Regions from separate parts of the Homo sapiens genome. Here all the other regions are linked to region 2. The links are contacts of gene promoters, found by promoter capture Hi-C in human tissues and cell types (Jung and others, 2019). All regions are on one chromosome and are shown on one strand. Each heading gives the region's core, a stretch centred on a gene start or on the middle of the fragment in contact. The rest is flanking DNA. Distances are from core to core; before and after follow the strand shown.

Region 1 (2,826 bases), core at 155-2,654, 250 kb after region 2:
GCATGCATATACCTTGAATTTACTTTGTTTATACTCTCATTTATACTACCAACCCTCCCTAGAAAAAATGGATTCTGATTGGTTCTGGTTGCAGTATTACAAATTCCAAATAAAGCTTTATTTGAGGACCCCCAAAGTTGAGGTACTGATCCCTTTGGCTGTTTGTTTCCCACTAAGTTGTGTGTGTGTGTGTGTGTGTGTGTGTGTGTGTGTGTGTGTGTGTATGTGTAACCAACATTTTGTTGAATCAACAATGTACCATTAGTAAAGCTGCTGTGCAAAATTATCCCTCAGATCTGTTCTAAACTTACAGTTTAACTGATTTTATTGTCCTCACCTAAGGTTATACAATTCATTTTTTGGAAGAAAATACTAGGACATTAAATCAAGATGGTTACTTTTGCTATTTTGCTGAAGATTCATATTTAAATATAAATGAAGAAGTTAATCTACACATTAGAAGTGTTTTAAAAAATGTTTAAATTGATACATAATTGTACTTTCATTTATACATTGTATAATAATCAAATCAGTGTAAGTAGCAACCCATTGTGAACCCCAAATATCAGAAACAGGATTCAATTAATTTAGAAAGCTTATTTTTGCCAAGGTTAAGGGTGTGCCCATGACACAGACTTAGGAGGTCCTGACACATGTGCCTAAGGTGGTTGGGGCACAGCTTGGTTTTATACATTTTAGGGAGACATGAAATATCAATCAATACATGTAAGATGTACATTGGCCAGAAGGGCAGGGGAAAGACAATTTGAAGCGGGGAATTTCCTTATGGGCAAATTGTGAGGGAGTTAATGTAGCTTCTTCTTTTATTTTATTTTATTTTATTTTATTTTATTTTTTATCTCTGTTGCTATCTCCTTTAGGAATAGAATGGGAGGTAGGTTTGCCTGACACAGTTCCCAGCTTGACTTTTCCCTTTGGCTTAGTGATTTTGGGATACCGAGATTTATTTTCCTTTCACACCATCAGCTCAAACATTTATCATTTCTTTGTAGTGAGAACATTCAATACATTATTAACTATAGTCACCCTTTAATTTTTAAATAGACAAATACAAATTGTATGTACTGTATATTGCATGATTCAAAATATGTACATACATTGTGGAATGGCTAAATTGAATTAATTAACGTGTTTTACCTCACATACCTATTTTTGTGATGAGAACACAAAATCTTTTCTCTTAGCAATTTTCAAAAATATTATACATTGTTATTAACTGTAGTCACCATGTTATACAACAGAGCTCTTAACCTTATTGATTTTCTAATATTTTATTAAAGATTTTTGAGAGTATGTTTATGAGGGATATTGGTCTATAGTTTTCTTTTAGTGTCTTTTCCAGATTTTTTTGTTAGGGTTATGCTGACCTCATAAAATGAGTTGGGAAGTCTTCCCTCCCTTTTTTATTTCTGGTTGAGTTTGTGCATTAGTTGGTTCTAATGCTGCTAATAAAGAAATATCTGAGACTGGGTAAGTTATAAAAGAAAGAGGTTTAACTGACTCACAGTTCCATATGGCTGGGGAGACCTCACAATCATGGTGGAAGGCGAATGAGGAGCAAATTCACCTCTTACATGGCGGCAGGCAAGAGGGCTTGTGCAGGGGAACTCCCATTTATAAAAACCATTAAATCTCGTGAGACTTATTCACTTATGGGGACACTGCCCCCATGATTCGATTATGTCCACTGGCCCCACCCTTGACACTTGAGGATTATTACAATTCAAGGTGAGATTTGGGTGGGGACACAGCCAAACCATATCAGTTTATGATTATGATTAGGATTATTGTTTTCATTAAATGTTTGGTAGAATTCACCATCTATTCCTGAAGATTTAAAATATTGAGCTCTATTTATTCAATGGATATATAGCTCTTTAGAGCCTCCCTCTTCTAAATCTTTCTGTAGTTGTCACTATATCTTTCTGTAAGTATCATAAAGAAGAAATATACTTTCTATAAGTGGAACTGTGTCTTGTCAAAGTTTATTTTATGTAATTTGTCAGGTTTATTGTCATGAAATTGTTCATAATATCCCCTTATTATCCTTTTAATGTCTATAGTGTGATGTCTTATTTTTCATTCCTGATGTTTGTAATTTCTATTTTCTCTTTTTTGTTTGTAACCAGTCTTGCTAGGGAGTTATTAAATTTATTAATAATTTTACACAAATGGTGATTTTGTTAATTTTTGTTAACTTTTCTCTTTTGTTTTTCTTTTTCATTGGTTTATATTTTTATTGTTACTATCATTTGGTCTTTGTTTACTTTGGGCTTCATTTACCCTTCTTTGCTAGCTTGTTAAGATAGAAGCTTAGATAACTGATTTTTATCCTTTTCTAACATTAAAACTGCAAATTTTCCCCTAATATGTCTTTCATTGCATCTCACAAACGTTGTTATGTTGTGCTTTTTATCATTTACTAAAATATTTTCTAATTTACCTAATGATTTTTTCTTTGAAGTGTAGGTTATTTAGAAATGTAGTCTTTAATTTCCAAATATTGGGACATTTTCTAGATATCTTAATTATTATTGATTTCTAATTTATTTATTTCTTTTAGGGAGAGGGTCTTGCTTGTTGCTCAGGCTGGAGTGCAGGTGGCATGATCATGGTTCACTGCAGCCTCCAACTCTTGGGCTCAAGCAACCTCTTGCCTCAGCCTTGCAAGTAACTGGGACTACAGGCACACACCATTACACCTGGCTAATTTTAAACATTTTTTCTGTAGAGATGGGGTCTCATTTTGTGTTCCAGGCTGGTCTTGAGCTCCTGGGCTCAAGCATTTCTCCTGCCTTGGCCTCC
Region 2 (2,700 bases), core at 187-2,686:
AATCTTAAAAGAAACTATACTGGTAAAAAGAATTTGGATGGAAATAGCTCTAGAAAAACTAATACAACTTACAGACAGGTAAATTTCATAAGATATAATCTTACGTTTTATTAATTCAAACACTAATAGCTGCTATATGTAAACAGCTGGAGAAAAAAACCAAACTAGAAGAAATGAGTATTTCATGCTGTTTAGAAAAATGAAATAAATATGAAAGTAGTGATATATTAAAATATTTACTGTTTGATACCTCAAGCCTTTTAAGGGCAATATGAAGGAATTTCTAAAAATCAGTTTGCTTTATAACTTCAAAATAAAGTCCATGACTCAATGACAGCAGTTGATAGAGGTCAATTCTGATCAAGTTAAAGATCATATAGTGGGATGAAGTCTCCCAGACCTGGTCCATTACCAAGGCACAAAAGATACAGTTTCTCCAGATGTCAGGGGGGAAAATGACTTGGCACCGCATCACACACTTAAAATCCAATAGGGTTCCTTTAATGCAACACAGCACTGTGCGTCAAAGCATACCCTGGTGTAAAGGCAGTGAAATGGACAGAAACACCATTATTTGTGTTTCATTTCCTGAATGCCTTATAAACATGCACAACAAAATGCTCCTGATCCCCATCAGAGAGGATGAAAACAACCCAAATGTGCCCTTTCCACCTCCTCCCCTGGTATTGGTGCTTGCGCCTCAGCACTGAGGCTTGGAGTTGTCTTCTCAAACCATCATTGTCCGGTGGGAAATTCACCGAGAAAGGAAACGTGGGATAGGAAGTCTGTTACCAAAATAGAAATTAGTATTAAAAAGACCGATCCTACGCTCCCTCCACCCTCTCATACAAGACAAAATAAAAAAAACCTCCGTAAACTTGCCCTACCGTCACGAAGATCACACAAGCTCCGATCAAATGTGCTTCTCGATCATCTTTTAGGCAAGAGAGCGCTTGGGGTGCATTTTCGGCCCCTCATCTCCCACCCCCAGTCAAGCCAGGCCCCTGGACTGACAGGAAAGGCTGGCCGGACGTTGGCTCGGACGGGAAAGGCGGTTATTTTCGCCGAAGCCGCTCACGCTAAGGGTGAAGTAATGTAGGGCCAGAGGTAACACGGCTTAGGCTGTGGGCAAGGCCTCCGAACTGACTAAAGATAGGCAGGACACGGCAGCAGGGGAGGCGGGAGAAGCAGCCGGGCCTAGGCCGCACCAGGCCGCGGAGTGGCCCTACGCTGCTGCTTCCCGACCGAGGCTGCCAGCCAAGCCCCAGAGAAGAAGGTTATCATTACCTGGACGGGTTCCTGCAGCACCGTCATCCTCGAGGCTCAGGCCCACTTTCTGCAGTGCCTCAGGCCCCCCCTGTAGCGGCTCCGGCCCGGCCAGCCCCTGCTCATTTAAACTCACCAGCGACCGTTACCGGGGGATGGGGGAGGCCGAGCGATTGCCGAGTGCTTCCGAGCGGGACACGGGAATACCCGAAGTGGAGAAAGCCGAGCGGGAACCAGACGGAAAAGCCCGAAGGGAGTCGGAAATACCCGAGGTTGGTCGACGAGAGAGAAAACCGTTGCCGGAAATTGTCGAAGATTACCGGAAGCTACCGAGTCTGACCCAAAGCGTAGGTTTCTCTTCTCAGCCACGCCTTCAGCCACGCACACCACGCCCAATCGGCCGTCCCAGGGTTGGGCTACGCCAAATCTGCAACCAGCAGGCTGGGCGTGGCGTGACAGCGCGGGCGGGTAGCGTTACGTGGCGGGGCTGCAGTGTGGATTAGCCCCTCAGCCCTTTTGGATTAATTGGTGTGCTGTAGATTATGAAGCAAAGGGTGAAACAGCAGAGTTTGGGGCTGTCTTTAATGAATCAACAAGTATTTGTCTATTGAGTTTAGATCATTCGTCCATTCCAGAAGTATCTACTCACGGCTCTGGGGGAAAGCTAAAGAAATTTGGAAAGATTGCCACTCCCCAAAGACATAGGATAGCTTCTGTCTTCAAGGAGATTAAGGTCTATTTAAGGGAAAAGCAGTGTAACAGAGAACGCTATATTATATGGTGCCTATTATAAGTAATATAAAAATTCAGAGAGGGCAATTGTGATAAGATAAGGAAAGTTCTATGGAAGGAAAAAAAAGTTTAAAATGGAGTTTGAAGGATGGGTAAAATTAGAGGAAAAAGAAGTATAGGAAAGTGAAGGGAGGAAAAATGGGATCAGTCTGCTAAGAAGGCATTAATTGGAAATAGTTACTTAGGTGAAGAGATCATGGAAAAGCTCAATAGGCCATTAGAAATTTTTATTTTTGATAGGTGAGGCATTCCGCTGTGGTGGGAAGAGTAGGGGGTCGGAAATTCAGAGGCCTGGTTTTGAATTTTATCTTTAGCACTAACTAGTCATAGGTCCTTGGCAAATTACCTCTCTGAACTTATGTTCGCTTAGTTTGAAAAAAAAGGATTAAGAGAATTCGATGTATTATAAATGTGGCCGTGTCTAGCATGCAATGTAGACTCTCTCATATTTCCTTTCTGCTCCCCTTCTCCCCCCAAAAAGAGTGAACCAGGGGACTGTTTAAATTTTGTTTTTCAGCAGATGAGGAAACAGTTTTTGAAAGTTACTTTTCTAGTCAGGAGCTCTCTAGGCTAGATGTGAGAATCATGATATATTCCATTGCTTGGAAATTTCCCTTTGGGTGATGTTAGAGGGAGATATTT
Region 3 (2,962 bases), core at 337-2,836, 140 kb before region 2:
GTTATCAGTGCACTAAGTTACATTTGCCATATTTCTCAGCAGTAAACCTAGATGTGGAATCAATGTTACTACCGTTCATTAAACTGCCAACCACAGGAAACAGCCTGGCAAAGATTCAAACTGTAGGCCAAAACCAGCAAAAAGTGAATAGAGTCCTCATGGGCCCAAGGAGCATCCAGAAAAGGCACTTCAAAGAGGTGGGAAGGCAGAGCATCAGGAGGGAACAGGGTGCCCAGGCATCTGTGGAGAACGCTGCCGAAGAAAAAAGGCTCGGGAGTCCAGCCCCAAGGGAGCTGGAACAGCCTCACACACAGCAGGGGCCTGAGAAGTTAGCGGGAAACGCCATCTACACCAAGCCTTCGTTCACCCAAGAGCATAAGGCAGCAGTCTCTGTGCTGACACCCTTCTCCAAGGGCGCGCCTTCTACCTCCAGCCCTGCAAAAGCCCTACCACAGGTGAGAGACAGATGGAAAGACAACACACACACTATTTCCATTTTAGAAAGTGCAAAGGCTAGAGTTACAAATATGAAGGCTTCTAAACCAATTTCACATTCCAGAAAAAAATACCGCTTTCACAAAACTCGCTCCCGCATGACCCACAGAACACCCAAGGTCAAAAAGAGTCCAAAGTTCAGAAAGAAAAGTTATCTGAGTAGACTGATGCTCGCAAACAGGCCTCCGTTCTCTGCAGCGAAGAGCCTCATAAATTCCCCTTCACAAGGGGCTTTTTCATCCTTAGGAGACCTGAGTCCTCAAGAAAACCCTTTTCTGGAAGTATCTGCTCCTTCAGAACATTTTATAGAAACCACTAATATAAAAGACACAACTGCAAGAAATGCCTTGGAAGAAAATGTTTTTATGGAAAACACTAACATGCCAGAAGTCACCATCTCTGAAAACACAAACTACAATCATCCTCCTGAGGCAGATTCCGCTGGGACTGCATTCAACTTAGGGCCAACTGTTAAACAAACTGAGACAAAATGGGAATACAACAACGTGGGCACTGACCTGTCCCCCGAGCCCAAAAGCTTCAATTACCCATTGCTCAGTTTGAAATTCAGCTAACCCAGCAGCTACAGTCCCTTATCCCCAACAATGTGAGAAGGCTCATTTCTCATGTTATCCGGACCTTGAAGATGGACTGCTCTGGGGCCCATGTGCAAGTGACCTGTGCCAAGCTCATCTCCAGGACAGGCCACCTGATGAAGCTTCTCAGTGGGCAGCAGGAAGTAAAGGCATCTGAGATAGAATGGGATACGGACCAATGGAAGACTCAGAACTACATTAATGAGAGCACGGAAGCCCAGAGTGAACAGAAAGAGAAGTCGCTTGAGGTGAGGACCACACAGAAACATGAGACCCAGATTTCCCATCATTTAGCATATCCCAGGAAAGTGCCCACACAGAAGAATCTGGGACTCCCAGGCCATAGCTTATCTTGGCCATGTAACTTTGGTCATGACAGTGATCTCCCACTTTGCTCATGTAGAGAGTGAAATATAGATTAGGGCACAAGATGAACTGTAGGCCAGGGGTGGTAGCTCATGCCTGTAATCTCAGCACTTTGGGAGGCCAAGGTGGGTGGATTACTTGAAGTCAGGAGTTTGAGACCAGCTTGGCCAACATAGTGAAAGCCTGTCTCCACAAAAAATAAAAAAATTAGCTGGGTTGATGACACGTGCCTGTAGTCCCAGCTACTTGGGAGGCTGAGGTGGGAGGGTCACCTGAGCCCAGGGAGGTCGAGTCTAGTGAACGGTGATTGCACCACTGTACCCCAGCCTGGGTAACAGAGTGAGACCCTCTTTCAAAAAAATAAAAAAGAACCTGTAAGCTACTCACCTGGAATACTGGGGTTTTGAATAGTTAGCTCTCATTCTGGTGTGTTTTTTTTTGTTTTGTTTTTTTGTTTTTTTTAGCTCACAAAATAAGTTCCAGGATATGGCTATACTGACAAACTCATCTTGGCATTAATTGTGACTGAAATACTAATGATTTTTATTATACTTTTCTGCCTCATTGTGGTAAGGACAATAATTAATTCAGGTTGTCAGAATGCAGTCCTGTTTCTGTGTGGATTCAGAGCTCACAAACTGAAAACCAAAGCCACTTTCCCACCTGCTGCTACTTGACATACTTCTTCAGTCATTTAAGGCTGAGGTGTATGCTTTGTTCTTTTATTGCAGTGTATATTTCAGGATTTTTAAAAGATCCTCGCTTCCAGATCTCTGTGAATTGAAACCAAGTTAATCCCACTAGACTATTTTAAGAAGTCGATATAATAGCAAAATTTCTCCACCCAAAACTATGTCAACAATTGGATGTACTCATCAAGTCACCCTTACTCTGCCACTAATTTATTTCCTTGGTGCTGAAATGATGAGAGAGGTATAATCTCCACCCTCACGGATTTGTCATCACCCTGGAGAGGAAGGAGAGAGCCAAAAGACAGAAGTATTGTCTTGTAGACTTATTAGATTTACACAGTATCGTCCTCCAGTGTGTAAGGCATTGTCTAAATAGGTCCAGTTAAAGCACTACAGAGTAGCCATCTTTTACAAAAATTGTTGGCCACATTTTTAAGTTCACAGGCGAGGGGGAACGTCTCATACTCTAGCCCTCCTGAGCCTAGACCCTCTGTGAGATGTGTCACCATTTCTTGGACACCATGTGAGACATTCCCCCTCAGATTAGAGATGCTCAGCCTGCATCAACTTATCTAAAGCCTACATCTGGCTACTCTGGGGCAAGTCCTGTTTACAGTGCCCATTCCTGGAGCTTGCCTCTGTTTGTCTTTTGTTCGATTACATGATATATTACTTTTCCCAACAGGCCAGTGCTAGCATATTGGAAGAGTGATTTAATAAAGCTGGCAACCTTGACGCTATGCCACCAGTCCAACCTTATTTGCCTCATTTACCATTTCCATTATTGTGGCAGCCCTCCATTCCAGCCACAGC

The links. The method cuts DNA at HindIII sites, captures the fragments that hold promoters and counts their contacts. A contact is called where the count stands out against the background at its distance.
Region 1: a fragment that was not itself captured here is called in contact with the fragment with the promoter of CDC27 in region 2 in 4 of the 25 tissues and cell types used here (H1 embryonic stem cells, heart left ventricle, lymphoblastoid cells and 1 more).
Region 3: a fragment that was not itself captured here is called in contact with the fragment with the promoter of CDC27 in region 2 in 1 of the 25 tissues and cell types used here (mesenchymal stem cells).

The regions. Positions count from the first base shown.
Region 1 is chr17:47,441,177-47,444,002 of GRCh38, forward strand. It overlaps EFCAB13 (EF-hand calcium binding domain 13), which reads left to right. Exons shown (of 25, transcript NM_152347.5): 25 at 1-136. Among named protein-coding and RNA genes, the nearest start is that of NPEPPS, 89 kb to the right of the region's middle. The HindIII fragment of the contact is 4,140 bases long and covers 1-2,826 here.
Region 2 is chr17:47,187,859-47,190,558 of GRCh38, forward strand. It overlaps CDC27 (cell division cycle 27), which reads right to left and starts at 1,437. Exons shown (of 19, transcript NM_001256.6): 1 at 1,288-1,437. The coding sequence starts at 1,314. It also overlaps a transcript of MYL4 not described here. RefSeq lists a silencer at 962-1,011 and enhancers at 1,045-1,641, 1,172-1,361. The HindIII fragment of the contact is 11,296 bases long and covers 1-2,700 here.
Region 3 is chr17:47,049,375-47,052,336 of GRCh38, forward strand. The region is part of intron 3 of LOC101927060 (a long non-coding RNA gene); the gene reads right to left. It also overlaps the pseudogene LRRC37A17P. Among named protein-coding and RNA genes, the nearest start is that of RPRML, 72 kb to the left of the region's middle. The HindIII fragment of the contact is 5,470 bases long and covers 1-2,962 here.